3 separate regions of the Homo sapiens genome follow, and all the other regions are linked to region 3. Evidence: promoter capture Hi-C in 16 types of primary human blood cells and fetal thymus (Javierre and others, 2016). All regions are on one chromosome and are shown on one strand. The core of a region is centred on a gene start or on the middle of the fragment in contact, and the rest is flanking DNA. Distances in the headings are between cores, read along the strand shown.

What was found. The method cuts DNA at HindIII sites, captures the fragments that hold promoters and counts their contacts. A CHiCAGO score of 5 or more calls a contact.
Region 1: a fragment that was not itself captured here is called in contact with the fragment with the promoter of FYN in region 3 in 2 of 17 cell types (total CD8 T cells and non-activated CD4 T cells); the score reaches 5.8 in total CD8 T cells.
Region 2: a contact is called between a fragment that was not itself captured here and the fragment with the promoter of FYN in region 3, in 6 of 17 cell types (total CD8 T cells, activated CD4 T cells, naive CD8 T cells and 3 more). The highest score is 8.2, in total CD8 T cells.

Annotation. Positions count from the first base shown.
Region 1 is chr6:112,063,404-112,066,103 of GRCh38, reverse strand. CCN6 (cellular communication network factor 6) reads right to left here. Exons shown (of 5, transcript NM_198239.2): 3 at 1,107-1,349. Among named protein-coding and RNA genes, the nearest start is that of CCN6, 11 kb to the right of the region's middle. The HindIII fragment of the contact is 4,008 bases long and covers 1-2,700 here.
Region 2 is chr6:112,023,181-112,025,916 of GRCh38, reverse strand. No RefSeq gene overlaps it. Among named protein-coding and RNA genes, the nearest start is that of CCN6, 30 kb to the left of the region's middle. The HindIII fragment of the contact is 8,615 bases long and covers 1-2,736 here.
Region 3 is chr6:111,872,063-111,874,762 of GRCh38, reverse strand. FYN (FYN proto-oncogene, Src family tyrosine kinase) reads left to right here and starts at 1,311. Exons shown (of 14, transcript NM_002037.5): 1 at 1,311-1,795. It overlaps LOC102724646 (a long non-coding RNA gene), which reads right to left and starts at 1,311. Exons shown (of 3, transcript NR_168402.1): 1 at 1,073-1,311. RefSeq lists silencers at 1,182-1,271, 1,392-1,641, 1,792-2,191 and an enhancer at 1,240-1,739. The HindIII fragment of the contact is 15,284 bases long and covers 1-2,700 here.

The sequences.
Region 1 (2,700 bases), core at 21-2,520, 190 kb before region 3:
TCTTAAATATCTAAACTCATTTCTCTGCTTATAGTTGCCTTTATTAAATATCCACTTAATAAAAGTGAACTCATGAGTTGTTAACATATTCAAGTATTCTGCATTTCCATGGCACCTCTCACTAAGCTCTAAACTTTAAGAAAAAGGCATTCTTGATTTCTGGATGAGAACACAGAGATGTGAACAAGAACCAGACTTCGATGTTGCCCCTTTTGAGTCCCTCCTCCTCTATACTTTATTTGCTGGTGGTTCTGAAACTCCTGTTCCCAAAATATGCTGATGCTTAAATAAAATGCTAACTTAGAGCAGACCAGAATACAAGGTTTATAAGTATACTTAAGCTGTTTGAAATGGCCAGATACACAAGATGAGTAATGAAGGATCACACTTCATTTTTCTGAGAACATAGATACATGGGTAACCTACTTAAAAATGCCTGTGTGTGTGCATGTGTGTGTTTGTGTGTGTGTGTGTGTGCGTGCGTGTGTGTGTGCGTGTGTGTTTGTGTGTGTGTGCGTGTGTGTGTTTGTGTGTGTGTGTTTACAGAGAGATTAACAATTGAGCTTCAATTTCAGAGTGAGGGAAAGGACTTCCTACGAGATTTCTATTTTTAGAAATAATATTTACAAGTTCAAAATATGTGTCAGTTCTTAAATATTTTTCAGCAGTAGCCTCCCATTTCTGCCTGTATCACATAGAAATGTTACCTTTTAAAATTTGGGGAAGTGAATGGTCAAACTTCTTGCCCATAATAGAACAATAAAAATAAGTTGTTCTAGGGTACATGTGAACAATATTTGGTCAATTTTCCTGAGAAGAGGTTAGAAATAAGCAGAGGTGTAAGATTTTAGTAGAGCTTCCTGACCTAGTAGATCTTTTAAAAATGTTTTTAAATGTTTTACCAGAAAATTCTAAAACATTATAAAATTTCCTTTGCAGATATTTATCCCTGTCTGAGGCAAAGATTAAGTAAAATGATACACTCAAACTATATCTCACTCTGACCACCAATCAACAAGTACTTACTGAGTACCTATGATACGTAAAAGGAACATGAAGGAATACCACCAAGGTCATACGTGAAAAATAGCTCTACTTCTGAGCACCTGGCATTGTTTTGTAGCTTGTTGAAAGCTGCTGTAGTAATGGTTCCAGGCTACAGTTTGACTGATCAGACTTCTTTCCACCTTTAGCTCCAGAGCAGTGACTGCCAGCCAGCTTTGGTATGAACAGAGGTGTGCATCCAATGGCCCCACTCACACAGAGGCAGCTGAACAAGGGGTTGGGCTGAAACACTTGGCCATTATGATAATGTACCTGGTTGAACTCGCACCCAACAGCTACAAGGTCTGAAAAGAGAAAAGAGCAAAATTGCCAAAGAAGCCATGATCTGTGATAGTCTAGACCTCCAATTATAAACCTAAGAAGAAACGGATCATCTCCTGTATGAAGTATAGCTCTCAACCTCTTAGGTTCCATTTGGAACCTCCTTCACAGGACATCTGTAGAAAGGTTTCTAAAGTGAGGCATTTTTATTATATTGCAGGCTATAAACCCCACATGGTCACTTCCAGAATTAAGACCAAGTAAAGACCCTGTAAAATCACCATAAGTATAGTGGTTGATAATAAATCTGAGACAGGTTAATGCCTAGTGAGACAGGTTTTCTCAGACATCCAACAATAGGCTAGGATATAGTCTTAGGAAGACAGGATAAGTGAATGTCTGAAGAAACTATACGTTAGTTAACTACAGAACCGCAAGGTACTGATGGTTTTTGTTAAGAGATTGCAGGAGAGTTTCCCTTCCTCTGATGGGTATTCTTGACTTTCTGGATAGGCTGTTCCCCAAGTGTGGTCCTCTAATCCCTTGGCAGTACCTGAGACACTTTTAGGGGATCTGCAAGGTCAAAACTCTTTTCCAAATACTAAGATGTGGCTGGCCTTTTTCACTGTGTTGGTATTTGCACCGGTGCTACAAAAGCAACTGTGGCTAAAACTGAACTGCTGGTGCCTTGGCATGAATCAAACTGTAGAGGTAATCTTGTATTTTTCCTTGCCAGGTACTTATACTTTAAAAGGGGTGGGGGAAGTTTTACCTAAGAATGTCCTTGATGGCACAGCAAAAAGTATTAATTTTATTAAATCTTAATCATCAAATACTGGTCTCTTTAATATTCTACGTGACAAAATAGGAAATATACATAGAATATTTTAGTGCAACAGCTGTCTTGAAACTTCAGCAAACTGCTCTCTCAGGGAAACTTAAGGAACTATGTCATTGGTAAAGTTGTGAGCTGAGCTAACCACTTTTTTTAGTGGGAATTTTACTTGAAGAAATGACTGATGATAAACTGGTTATTCAGACTTGTGTATTTTGGAAATTTTTTTTGAAGATGAGCAAACTGAGCCTGTCACTTCAAGGAAAACAACTGTGACAGCATTTTTTGCCAATGCGAGAATTCAAGATTTCAAGGAAAAATTAGAATTTTGGAAAACTTGTATCCATCACTGAAAACTTTATATTTATCCAATATGTAGACTTTTCTGGTGAGGATGATATTAATGTGATTTTTTTTAGATATTACATAATTAAGTGTATCAATATTTTGAACATCTCTACAACACAGTAAACATATTTTCCAAATGAACAATGCATAGAATGGCAAAATTATACATGAGTAAAAGATCTATTCCAAAT
Region 2 (2,736 bases), core at 42-2,541, 150 kb before region 3:
TTGTAGTACATTGTTATGGCAGCCCTAGATGACCTGTGGCAAATTAACCTCTTTGTGCTTCGGTTTCATTTTTTAAAAATGATATTAGTAATGGTCCCTACTTCATGGAGTTGTTATGAGAATTAAATTAATTAATACTTACATAGTGCTTAGATCAGTCCTTGGCACAGAAGACCAATGATGTCTTATAATGTTCAAAATTCTCTCCTATTCGATGTGACAGTGATGGGAGTAGATGTCCCAAGTTCTGACATAATAAGTCCTAATTTACAACCCATCGTTGTGTTGGGACATTTCATAATTTATCTTCAGTGCAGAGCATGGATACACAAAAGCACTCAGGTGGCCAGCAAGAGCAATGAATGTGAGGTGGCTTTGCAATTACTTGGATTCACTAGATACCGAGCAACTTCCCCATGCATGGTGCAGAGCTGTGGCACTCACACGGCCAGGTGTGACCTATGGGGAAAAGTATTTTATGTTATTTTATTGTTTCCTAATACTGAAACTTCAAAAGCAAAATGATTCTAGATTTTCATCACTTTCTCTTGAGCATTTCTAGCGTTCCTGTAACTTACACAACCTGGGAAATTCAAAAGAGCAGGAAAACTTTTAAGGGAAATAAATAAGAATGAAGGACTGAAACAGCTAATGGGAGAGTGACTGAGGCCAAAGAAAATTCAAGAATTATTATTATTTTTTTCATTTTAAACAAAGGATCCTCTGCTTAACCAACACGGCTCTCTCTTAGCTGTAGGCCATCAGTGAATCTTAATTAGTTAAAAGGTTTGTGGGTTCCACGGGTCTTCTTGGATAAGAGGATGAATATCTCTCTTTTCCCGGCCAAAAGCACCACTAGAAATCCATTCAGTCATTCGAAAGTATTTATTGAACATCTATCATGTGCTAGGTACAGTTTTAGACATTGGGAATATGACAATAGATAAAATTAACAAAAGTCCATATCTTCATGGAACTTATACTCCAGTAAGACAGAAAGATGAACAACCAAGTAAATAAGTCTATATATAGTATGTCAGAGAGTTATAAATGCTATAAAGAAAGTCAAAGCATGGATATGTTTGGGGTGGGGTATTTACTAGGGATGCAATACTAGATAAGGTGGCCAGGGAGTCCTCACTGAGAAGGTGACATTTGAATAAAGATCCGAAAGAGGTGAAGGAGTGAGCCATCAGATATCTGGGAGGTGAGCAGAGGACGCAGCAAGTGCAAAGGCCCTGAGGCAGAAGTGTGCTTAGAATATTGAAGGAACAGAACAGGCCAGTGTGGCTGAAATGGAGTGAGAAAGGGTATGAGATGGAGTTGAGGGAGGTACTAGGGGCCAAGTCACAGAGGGCCTTGAAATCACAGTAACAACTGTGGCTTCTGCTTTGAGTGCAACAGGGAGGCATAAGAAAGATCGTTGGCTGCCATGCGGTCTCTTCTAGACTGTGTCTGAGGCAAAGGAGGATGCAGGGAGACAAGTTAGGAGGCTGTTGCAATAATTCAAACAAGAGGTGACAGTGGCTCAGTAGCAATGTTGATTCTGAATATATTTTCAAAGTAGAGCAAATAAGATTCACTAAGTAGGACGTGAAGTATGAAATAAAAAGAAGAGTTATGGATGATTCTAGGGTTTTTGACCTGAACAACTAAAAGAATAGAATTTTCTTTTCTCTGAGACAGGGAGGACAAGGAGATGAGCAGATTTGCAGGCAGTTCAGCTCTGGATATGTAGGGTTTGAGATGCCTATTGAATATTGCATTTGTTTTCTAGGGCTGCTATAAAAAATTACCAGAAACTTGGTGGCTTCAAACAATAAAAACATTATCCCAGAGTTCTAAAGACCAGGAGTTCTAAATCTGTTTCACTGGGCTGAAATCGAGGTATTGGCAGGACCACGCTCCCTCCCGGGGCAGTGGGATGAATCTGTTCCTTGCTTCTTCCAGCTTCTGGTGGTTGCCAGCATTCCTTGGCTTGTGGCTGCATCACTTCAGTCTCTGCCTCTGTTGTCACATTGCTTTCTCCTCTTCAGTATGTCAAATCTCCCTGTACCTCCCTCTTGTAAGGATACATGTGATTGCATTTAGGGTCCACCCAGAAAAACTGGGATAATCCCTCCACTTCAAGATCCTTAATGTAATCACATTAGCTCTTCGACATGTAAGGTGACATATAAAGGTTGCAGGGATTAGGGCATGAATATCTTTTGGAGAGAGTCATGATTCAGCCTACCACAGATATCCAAGTGGCAATGCTGCATAAGCAATTCCCTATATAAGTCTGGATTTCAGGAAGCGGTACAAGCTGAAGGCCTAAATCTATAACTTATCAGTATATAGGTGGCATTTAATGTCATAAGCCTGGAACACCTCAGAAGTGAGTATAGAAAAATAAGATGTCCCCTCAAAAAATTAAAAATAGAATTAGCGTTTGATCCAGTAATCCTACTTCTGGGTGTACATCCAAAGAAATTGAAGTCTGAATCTCAAAGACATGTCTGCACTTCCATGTTCACTGCAGCATTATTCACAATAGCTAAGACATGGAAGCCACCTAAATGTCCATTGACAGATGAATGAATAAAGAAAATGTGGTTTACACATACAGTGGAATATTATTCTGTTTTTAAAAAAGAAAGAAGAAATCCTGCCATTTGTGACAATATGGGTAGAACTGGAGAACATTATGCTAAGTGAAACAAGCTAGACACACAAAGACAAATACTGCATGAT
Region 3 (2,700 bases), core at 62-2,561:
TGAGTTAGTTACTTAACTTTTCTTTTCCTCAGTTTCCTCCTCCATAGGATGCAGATCATTTAATAAATGTTAGCAACTTTTCTTAAAAAGTAGTGTGTACAAAAAGAAAAAAGTCAGCAAAAGGGACAGATTTTTTTAAACTACAGTAAAAACAAGTAGTGGGCCGGAAAGGCAATATTATAGATTTTGAGCACAGAAGCAGAAGCTGATTCACTTATAATTTCTTAGAACATTAGATTTGCTGAGGGGGAAGGTAGGGTTCTTGCCAAAATCATTAAGGAGAGCGATTCTGAGTATGCCTTAAAGCAGAACTTTCAGTAAACAGGAATTACCTATAAAGAAAATCAGGAAGCCAAAGTGTTTCTTTTTATGAAGTTACATCCTGCCATAGAAAAGCTGGATAGGAAATAAAGACCGATGCACTCCCAACTGTATACTAAACCGGCAATTATTTCATCAAGGGAAATATGAGCAAAAGCTCAGATTCAGTGAAGGGGAAAAAAACATGAGAAGTTTGAATGTTATGAGAAACCAAAGACAACCAATGACTACAATTAAACGAGGTTTTTTGGGGGTGGGGCGGGGAATGTACGAACAAATCTCTGTCATTTCAGGTTCCTTAGTCGCCGCTTGGCCCCTCCCCCTATTTCAGTAATACTTCCTCCAGACTTTTGCTAGAAAAAAAATATAAATGAGTGTCCGCAGAAATAGGGGACTGATAAAATGATCCTAATCTCCTTCTCCTCCTCATTGTTATTTGTTGTGCGTTTCCACGTTTCAGGACAGGATTCTACTTTGCTCCGTACTCTTTTCAGTTTGATCAAAGAAAACGCTGCTATCACCGCCCAATTTTCCATTTCATCCTCTCACCCTCAAATGAAAAGACACCAGAAAGGCAAGATAGCCCTGTCTCGAGGCAGTTTCCCATGGTTTTGGGGGAATGGCAGGTGCCAATCTGCAGCAGCAGCTGCAACCTTCCGCAAAGCGGAAACTGCAGTTCACACTCTCCGCTCTTTCTCCCGCCCTACTCCGCCACCTCACAACTCCACACAATCCTTAAAAACACACAGACCTCCTCCTCCAACCTCGCATTTTCTTGCACACCCTGCACCGCACGCACCCTGGGATGCCCGCTGCCACAGTAACGCTCAACCCACTCGGCGGCCCCACCTACTGCCGTCCCGCCCACGCCCCAGGCGCCAATGGTTGCGGCTCGCAGCTCCCAAGGGGCTCTTTGATAGGGCAGCCGGGCCTGTCACTCTCGAGGCGCGCCCCGCCCCCTCCTCGCTCCCCTCCGGAGCTGGAGGGGCAGAGCATCAGCAAGAGTAGCAGCGAGCAGCCGCGCTGGTGGCGGCGGCGCGTCGTTGCAGTTGCGCCATCTGTCAGGAGCGGAGCCGGCGAGGAGGGGGCTGCCGCGGGCGAGGAGGAGGGGTCGCCGCGAGCCGAAGGCCTTCGAGACCCGCCCGCCGCCCGGCGGCGAGAGTAGAGGCGAGGTTGTTGTGCGAGCGGCGCGTCCTCTCCCGCCCGGGCGCGCCGCGCTTCTCCCAGCGCACCGAGGACCGCCCGGGCGCACACAAAGCCGCCGCCCGCGCCGCACCGCCCGGCGGCCGCCGCCCGCGCCAGGGAGGGATTCGGCCGCCGGGCCGGGGACACCCCGGCGCCGCCCCCTCGGTGCTCTCGGAAGGCCCACCGGCTCCCGGGCCCGCCGGGGACCCCCCGGAGCCGCCTCGGCCGCGCCGGAGGAGGGCGGGGAGAGGACCATGTGAGTGGGCTCCGGAGCCTCAGCGCCGCGCAGGTAAGCAGGCGGCGGGGATGCGTCGCGGGAGGCCTCGGGGATGCTGCGGAGAAGCCCGGCCGCCGGCGCCCCCGCGCACGCCGCCCCCGCCGCAGGGCCCGGTGCTGCGGTCCCTTGGCCGCCAGGGCGCTCCGCGGGGCTGCCGGGGAGTCGGTGCTTGGGGTCTTCCCGCGGTTGCACCGGAGGACACCCCTGCGGGGTGCGGCCCCGAGGCAGCGCGGGGATGGGGACCCCATTTCCTCGCCCGCAAGCGGGCGCCGGGTGAAAATGGGAATTGGCTTGGGGGCGAGGCTGGCCCAGACTCCGCCCCCGCCCTCCTTTTGGGGCCCCCCGCGGGGACTGGGGCTGTGTGTGTTGTTTTAATGTCAGGGATGATGTAATCACTTAATAATTGATGCCCCGTGCTGCTTCCCTCCCCACCCAACCCCTGCCCCACTCCTCCACCTCTCGGCCTCCTCCCTCGGCGGCGGTCGCCTTCTCCAACCCATCCTCCTGCCTATTTCTGGCACCTCCCTTGCACTTCCCCCATCCTCCCCTTCACTCTTCCTGTGCCACCACCCACCCACCCTTCCCCTTTCCCCTGTGCTGGAGCCTTCCCTCCTCTTCCTCTGTCCCCCACCCCTCTGCTCCCTCCAGCTCTTTTCTCCTTCCTTTCCGGCTCCCTCGCTGGATTTCCTCTCTACTTCCCTAGATCCATGGCTGTTTTTGTTTGGGCTCCTCCCCTCTGTTATCTCTGCGGCCACAGGCGGAGGGGACTGGGCCAGAAGGAGGCCACCGAGCTTGGGCCCAGCAGAGATGTGCTGGGACTCACTGGGAAGAGGGATAATAAAATCACCCTTCTTGCCCCTCCTTCCCCCAATAAATCACACAGACTCGCCGGGTGTGTGAGTGTGAGTGTGACACAA